3 separate regions of the Homo sapiens genome follow, and all the other regions are linked to region 2. The links are contacts of gene promoters, found by promoter capture Hi-C in human tissues and cell types (Jung and others, 2019). All regions are on one chromosome and are shown on one strand. Each heading gives the region's core, a stretch centred on a gene start or on the middle of the fragment in contact. The rest is flanking DNA. Distances are from core to core; before and after follow the strand shown.

Region 1 (2,700 bases), core at 153-2,652, 570 kb after region 2:
CTAGCACGCCAACATAGGCTAAAGAAAGGCTCATGGAATCGGCCTCTTATGCCAAGTCCTTGGCCTTTCATGACCTGGGCCCTGCTGATGTGGATAAGTCCCTGTGTGACTCTGTATCCCTCAGGATGCCCAACGCAGGGTTGGACCTAGAACAGGTGCCTGGCAAATGCTCGCCAGGTGAATGAGAGGCCCTTGTGAGTGGCAAGAATGCAAAGGACATCAGATGAGCAAATGGGACAAGGACTGGCACATGCCTTGAGCCAGTGAATCCAGAGAGATGGCAGGAAGGGACACTCCAGTGAACACCTTCTGCAAATGACAGTCCACTGGACTGTGAACTCCATGAGGGCAGGAGCTGTCTGCTGCTCACTGCTGGTTCCCGGGCCCTGGCACCATGCCCCACATTTGGAGCTCAGTGTGCACCTGTTGAGTGAGAGCTGAGGCTCCACAGCATTGAAGCCCTGTGCCCTCTGGGAGACATGAATTCCTTCAGGGTTATATAGCAGGCACTTGTTTTTTTTGTTTGTTTTGTTGTTTTTTGCTGTTGTTGTTGTTTTTGAGGCAGAGTTACGCTCTTATTGCCCAGGCTGGAGTGCAATGGTGCAATCTTGGCTCACTGCAACCTCCGCCTCCGTATTTTATGATTGGCAGAAGTTGTGGATGTGGCCGTAGCTCTGACATTTATTGGGCACTACTTGTGTGCAGGGTTCTGGGCTGAGCTCAAGGAGGACCAAGAGAATGAATAAATCACATTCTCCACCACTGGTCTAATCCACCTTCCATGCCGGAGGCACTCCATGGCTATGATAGACATTCCCTGCCCTCCTGGCCTGGTAGCCATGTTCTTATTTTTGGGTTTTAGCCCTTCTATTCGGATTTTCCTTTGGGAAACCACCTCTCCCTGAGCCTCTATCCACACATCCCAACTCCAGGGGTGGTCACATGGCCCGGGCCTGACCAACCAGCATACTCTATCCCATAAGCCACCATGATTGGTCCACAGGTGGGCACATGACCCAAGCTAGTCCAGCAAAAGTCAGCCTCAGGACTTCCCTCGGACTACTGGGAAACAGAAGGTCTCTTCCTAGGGATATTACTGCCTGTAAGAATGATGGAATGCTGGAGCCTGGAGCTACAGGAACTGAGCCAGCCTGAGAGAAAAGGCAACCCAGGAGAAATCAGGAGAGAGCGACAGAGCCAGAGACAGAAATCCAATACCGTCATCATTTGAGACCATGGATTCAGCAGATCTGCTGCCTGGATATCCTGATACGTGAGCCCACAAGCTAACATCTTTCTCCCTAGTTTTTGTATTGCTTAAACCACTTCAAGATGTGTTTTTGCTACTTGAAACAGAAAAAGTCCTGCCATACAGAGCTCTCCTCTCTTACTCTCCTCTCCCAAGAAGCACCTTCAGTCCCAAAACTCAACATGAGTTCTCTCTGTACTCAACCAAGCACTCTCCTCTAGCCTCCTCCCATCTCCGTAGCCCCCAGCCTGGTTTCAGGCCCTCTTGGATGGTCTGGGGTCTGAATGATCTCAAGAGACCCCCACCTGACTCCAGTCTGCCAGCTCAACCCCAATCCACTCCAATCCAACCCACACTGTCAAAACAGTTGATCTTTCTGAAACAGACAATATAGGCTCATGTCACTTCCCCACTTAACACCTTCGTAGGCTCATCACTGCCCAGAGCAGTTTCCTAAAGCACTGGGTCCATGTCCCTGCAGTTATGAGAGCTGATTTTAGATGGTATATGGACCCAGCACTCAAACACATTGAAACCTGTAATAAGAAACTTAAGCTCCTTTTGATTCACTTACAAACTTTCCAATTACTTTATAGAGAAGGTCTCAGCACTGTGCCACTATGGCTTTCACATCTCTCTACCGCTTACTTCTCTCCCTTTTTAACAAATAGAGAGAAAGTCTCAAGCTCAGAATCTTCCAGAGAAAGCTGGAATTTTAAAAGCTTGGTTTGCTTCCACTGCATTTATTATTATGGTCACCTTCCATTTATGCAAGTGGAACTAGTTTCTCATTTAGAGTAGTTTTGTAAAGTTAAGGAGATTAATTTGTATACACACAAAATGAGTTTATTTAAAGAAAAAAATAAGGCAAATAAGAGATGGTACTTGGATATGCGTGAATGTAGATCATTGTTTGGTAAACAATGACCCATAGGATGAAATGCGATCTGCTCAGCCAGGCACACGAGGCCCTTCTAGGTCCTCCTCCTTGGCCACCCTTTCAAGCCACTGAAGGGCTTGTGACTCTCAAGAGGAGTCTCACAGAGCCATACCTCCAAGCCTTTGTCCATGCGCTTCCTTCTGCCTGGATGCCCTTTTCCCCCAACCTGATTAGCAACCTGGAACAATCCCATTCATTCTTTTTTTTTGAGACGGAGTCTCACTCTGTGGCCCAGGCTGGAGTGCAGTGGCGCAATCTTGGTTCACTGCAACCTCCGCCTCCCGGGTTCAAGCAATTCTCCTGCCTCAGCCTCCGGAGCAGCTGGGATTACAGGCGCCTGCCACCAACGCCTGGCTAATTTTTATATTTTTAGTAGAGACGGGGTTTCACCATGTTGGCCAGGCTGGTCTCGAACTCCTGACCTCATGATCCACCCACCTCAGCCTCCCAAAGTGCTGGGATTACAGGCATGAGCCACTGTGCCCGACCAATCCCATTTATTCTTAAAGAC
Region 2 (2,700 bases), core at 2-2,501:
TTTTTTTTTCTTTTTTTTTGAGACGGAGTCTCGCTCTGTCGCCCACGATAGAGTGCAGTGGCGCGATCTCGGCTCACTGCACCCTCTGCCTCCAGGGTTCAAGCGATTCTTCTGCCTCAGCCTCCCGAGTAGAGTAGCTGGGACTACAGGAGCATGCCACCACGCCCAGCTAATTTTTGTATTTTTAGTAGAGACAGGGTTTCACCATATTGGCCAGGCTTGTCTCGAACTCCTGACCTCGTGATCTGCCTGCCTCGGTCTCCCAAAGTGCAGGGATTACAGGCGTGAGCCACCAGCCCGGACCACTTCCACTTTTAATAAGAGTGTCTGCCTGTCTAGTCCCCTTGTGTTTCACAAGGGCAGGAACTGAGTCGCATTCACCTCATTCTTCCTCCAGGGCTCAGCTCAGGGTTTGGCACATAATAGTAGGCATTCGACACGTTTTTTTGTGAAATAAACGAAATAGCGATGAGTTGTGGAAACGCTTGAGTAGAAGCAGCCCAAATAAATATAGTGATAAATGCCAACAATTTTTATTTTTTAAATTATTTTAAAAATAATAATAGAAACGGGGTCTCGATATGTTGCCCTGGCTGTTCTGGAACTCCTGACCTCAAGTGATCCTCCTGCCTCGCCCTCCCAAAGTGCTGGGATTACAGGCGTGAGCCCCACTTCGCCTAGCCCGCCAAAAATTTTTAGATGCAATTCTTCTTTCCTCGAGGCTCACTTTGTCCAAGTCTGCCACTCTACACGGGCTCCCCAAGCCAATTTCCCCTGGGCGCCCGCCCCGTCCTCCGGTCACTGCAGCACCGTCTCAGAGCTCACCGTCCAAGTCCTCGTCTGGAGCCGCCGCCACCCGGTGCTGCACTTCCCCCTGTACCAGAGGGTCGAATAATTCCGTTACCATGTCCTTCATCTGGGCCACGCCAGACAACAGGCCCTGGAAAGGGTCGCCGTCACCCGGCGCCTCACAGGACACCCGCAGCTTCTGCGGCTTCCCTTCCTGCCCGACGTACTCTCCCAGCAGCTCCATGGTGACCGCTAAGCTTCCAGAACACGACACCGGGAAGCGCCACCCGGAGGCGGAAATCAGCCCGCGTCCGGCGCAGGCGGGAGAAGGGAGAGGAGTGACATCCGTTTGTCGGAAGTCGCTCCTCCCCCTTCCTTCGCTTTTTTTCCTTGTCATTGGTTCCTGGCACTCGGGCCCCACCTCCTCCGGCTACGCCCCTCACGGCCGCTTTTCCCGCCTCCGCCGGGGCCGAGCCGCTGTTCGGCTGACAGTTGAGGATGGCCGGAGCCGAGGGCGCCGCTGGGCGGCAGTCGGAGCTGGAGCCCGTGGTATCGTTGGTCGACGTCCTTGAGGAGGACGAGGAGCTGGAGAATGAGGCGTGCGCTGTCCTGGGCGGCAGCGACTCCGAGAAGTGCTCCTACTCTCAGGTGGGCGCGCGGCCCGGGCCTCCTCTCCCCCGGCTCCCGCCGAACCTCCCCTTCCCGGCCCGGCTGTCCCTATTCCCGCCTTGCCGCAGTCGTCTCCCCAGTGGTGGTCCGGGGCCGCCGTTAGTCTGCCGCTTCCTCACCCCAAGCTCACCCTTCCCTTTTAACCCCAACCTCCTGGGCCCCCTTCAGCCTGTGTCCAGCAGGGGCCCCCCTCTCCCCTGTCTCCAACTCTGTCCGGCCCGCCAGGAAGGGCCCTGGAGCAGCTGCTCTGTCCGTCCTCTCCAGCCTCTTCTTGGTGCACCACTGCTTTTCACGAAACCACCCCGCGACCTCTCAGATCCAGACATCTTTGTCCCTGATTTTCCCATCCTAAGATTATTTATTTATTTATTTATTAGGGACCGAATGGGAGAGTCAGGTTAAAGAGATTTTCAAATCCATAGGGATTTGCGGTGAGCTCCTTGACAGCTAGTTCCTCTGCAATTTAGTTGGACAAGTGCTAGCTAGTACTTTTTCTTTCTTTCTTTTTTTGGCAAAATGAAGCAAGTACCCATGTCTATCTGCAGTCTGCCCCCCTCCCCTGGAAATAGACCGGAAACAGAACAGCAAGTGGCTCTGGCAAGGGAGGGGAGAGAGGAGAAAAGGATCTGTTTGGCATTTGGAAGACGTTGTGAGTGAGCAAGTGTTTGAGGGGGTGTGATGTGGTGTTTAGTGACTCACCCTACACTTCGAGGTACAAAAATGGAAAAGGATGGGTAGGAAGAAGACTGACAAAGGATGAGAATTGGTAGGAAGAAGGGTTACCTAGGAAGAGGGGTGGATTGGAACACTGGGGAGATGAGGGGAGAGACTTGTATTCATTATGTGGTATGAACTGAGATCATAATACCAGTTCTCGTTGTTGACCAAGGTTAGTTTACACTGCAAAGTGCTAGATTGTTGAATAAACCTGGTATCCAGACATAGCCCCAGGTATTTTAAAACCTTTGGTCACCACTAAAACAATTTTTCCCCTGCTTTACTTAAAAAAAAAAAAAAGAAAAAAGTTATGTCTATATGTAAACTATTTTTGAAGTGTAGTTACCTTTATAAAATGGATTCCTTAATATTTTCTTTGTGGTAAAAAAAAAAATACGGAAATTTGCACAAATCATGTACACAGCTTGAAAGGAAAGTGTGCGTGTTCCCACAACCCAGATCAACAAATAGAACATTAGGAGTGCAAAAGGCTTATTGGAATAGAACTTTAAAAAAAAAAGAAAG
Region 3 (2,700 bases), core at 4-2,503, 680 kb after region 2:
TTTCACAATATTGATAGTAATGTAAATTAATGCAATTCTTTTTTTTTTTTTTTTTTTTTTTTTTTTTTTTTTTTGTAGAGACGTGGCCTTGCTATGTTGCCCAGGCTGGTCTTGAACTCCTGGTTTCAAGTGATCCTTTTGCCTTGGCCTCCCAAAGTGCTGGGTTTACAGGCATCAGCCATCACACCCTGATGCTCAAAAACATCATACGAAGCTTTTGAAAAGCTATTTGGCAAAAACATATTTAAAACAGGGGTTGGCAAATGTTTTCTGAAAAGGGCCAGATAAGTAAATATGTTCAGCTTATTGAACCATATTGCCTGTGTGCAATATGTACTCAACCTGCTATTGTGGCAAGAAACAGCCATAGGCAATGTGTAAGTGAATGAGTGTAGCTATGTTCCAAGAAAGCTTTACTTATAAAGATTTATTTATTGCCCCAAAAGCCATGATTTGCCAACTCCTGGTTTTAACCATTAAATTATTATGAAAATGATGATTATATATAAAAAAAGTACCTACATGAAAGCACACTTAGAATATAAAGTTAAGTGAATAGTAGGTACCCAATTGTATAAAATCACAACCATGAAAATCCCTAGGCACAGACACATATGAAAGAAAGAAAACATGTCTCTCTCTCTCTTTTTTTTTTTTTTTTTTTTTTTTTTGAGACAGAGTTTTGCTCCTGTTGCCCAGGCTGGAGTACAATGGTGCGATCTTGGCTCACCACAACTTCCGCCTCCTGGGTTCAAGTGATTCTCCTACAAATGTATCGCAAAGAACTCCCGCACCGTTCCCTGAAGGAGACAAAGTTTCTCCAGAGGCCAGCTCATTCCAGAGGTACGGATGGCTGGTTCTTCTCTCCACTTAATTTTAAAAAATATATGTTCTTTCTTATGAAAAAAAGAATCCGTTTCTAGAGAATTCTACGAATGGTGAGTCACACTCTGGAGTGCCACTTCCATGAATGCCGAGTGATCAGTGGAGGTGGCTCACACGCCAGGGCTCACTGGAGCCACCCTCACTCCTGACACATTCCCTCATTTCCTGCTTCTTCCATTCATGTCTGTCTTTGTCTCACTTAATTTTTGCCCCAAATCTTATCATCTTACAGAACTGAAGCTCTTTGAAATTCAGCTTCTATGAAGACTCTGCAAGCCCCAAAGTGTTTAACCAAGACCTTTACCTGGGAAAGAGAATCCGGACTCAGCCCTCTGCAGGCTGTTGAAGCTCAAGCCACCACCATGCCAACTTCCACAATGATTCCACCAACACAAGTCAAGCACTGCCACCACCATGAGAAACACAATCCAGCAACTGTAACAAAACCCACAACAGCCAACACATCCCCCACAGCTGCAAATACAACCCTAACCCTACAACCACAGCAGTGATCACAACTCCAGTGATTATCACAACAAACCCAATAACCACACCAACTCCAACAACCACAGCTACAGCTCCCAAAATAACCACAGACCACAGCAACCTGACGCAATTTTAACAACAGCCACAATCATAACCACAACAGCTCCAATAACCACTGCAACAACCACAGTAGCAGGCATTTGTTGATCACCTCTTATAAGCCAGGTCCTCCACCAAGTGCTTGTCATATATTATCTCACATAGCCTTCCAGCTGCCCCAGGAAGTAGACAGATATACATGCATGCTTTATTTATTTTTATTTTTATTTTTAAAAGATAGACTTCTATTTTTCAGAAAAGTTTTAGATTTACAGAAAATTGAGGAGACAGTAGATAGAGTTCCTATAGGCCCCCTCCCTCCCACTCTCAGTTTTCCCTATTATTAACATCTTGCATTAGTGGGGTACATTTGCTAAGATTGATGAAACCATCTCGATGCATTATTATTAACTAAAATCCATAGTTTATGCGAGGGTACAGATTCCGGGGGCTTTGATGAATGCTTAATGGCATGTATCTGCATCAGAGTGGCATACAGAATAGTTCCATTGCCCTGAAATTCCTGCTTTCCACCTATTCATCCTTCCTCCCTTCTGTCACCCCCAAACTCCTGACAACCACTAGCCTTGACAATATTTTTATAGTTTTGTCATATAGTTGGAATCACACAGTATGTAGCCTTTTCACACTGGCTTATTCACAATGTAATATGCATTTAAGATCCCTCCATGTCTTTTCTTGGCTTGACAGCTCATTTTTTTTATTGCTGAATAATATTCCCTTGTACAGATGTACCACAGTTTATTCATTCACCTTTTGAAGTCTATCTTGATTGCCTCTAGTTTTGGGAAATTATGAATAAAGCTGCTATAAACATTTATGTGCAGGGTTTTGCATGGACATTTTTTTACCTTATTTGGGTAATTACCTAGGAATACAATTGCTGGATCATGTGTTTCAGCTAAACATAAACAAAGACGATGTTTAGTTTTGCAAGAGAGACAACAAATGAAACTGTCTTCCAACGTGACTGTACCATTTTGCATTTCCACCAGAAATGAATGAGAGTTCCTGTTGCTCTGTTTTCTTGACAGTGTTTGGTTATGTCAATGTTCCAGATTTTGGCCATTCTAATAGTAGTGTCATTTCCTTGTTGTTTTAATTTTCAGTTTCCTGATGACATATGCTTATTTGCAATCTGTGTATCTTCTTTGGTGAGGTGTCTGTTCAGATCTTTTGCCCATCTTTTAACTGAGTTGTTTTCTTATT

The links. Contacts are between HindIII fragments. The study calls those that stand out against the background at their distance.
Region 1: a fragment that was not itself captured here is called in contact with the fragment with the promoter of UBR7 in region 2 in 1 of the 25 tissues and cell types used here (hippocampus).
Region 3: a fragment that was not itself captured here is called in contact with the fragment with the promoter of UBR7 in region 2 in 2 of the 25 tissues and cell types used here (pancreas and stomach).

The regions. Positions count from the first base shown.
Region 1 is chr14:93,774,958-93,777,657 of GRCh38, forward strand. All of the region lies in intron 3 of PRIMA1 (proline rich membrane anchor 1), which reads right to left. Among named protein-coding and RNA genes, the nearest start is that of PRIMA1, 12 kb to the right of the region's middle. The HindIII fragment of the contact is 7,093 bases long and covers 1-2,700 here.
Region 2 is chr14:93,206,005-93,208,704 of GRCh38, forward strand. UBR7 (ubiquitin protein ligase E3 component n-recognin 7) reads left to right here and starts at 1,252. Exons shown (of 11, transcript NM_175748.4): 1 at 1,252-1,437. The coding sequence starts at 1,288. It overlaps GON7 (GON7 subunit of KEOPS complex), which reads right to left and starts at 1,061. Exons shown (of 2, transcript NM_032490.5): 1 at 826-1,061. The coding sequence starts at 1,033. RefSeq lists an enhancer at 298-1,157. The HindIII fragment of the contact is 21,573 bases long and covers 1-2,700 here.
Region 3 is chr14:93,883,678-93,886,377 of GRCh38, forward strand. LOC105370631 (a long non-coding RNA gene) reads left to right here. Exons shown (of 3, transcript XR_944162.3): 2 at 679-843; 3 at 1,118-1,727. Among named protein-coding and RNA genes, the nearest start is that of FAM181A-AS1, 41 kb to the right of the region's middle. The HindIII fragment of the contact is 5,900 bases long and covers 1-2,700 here.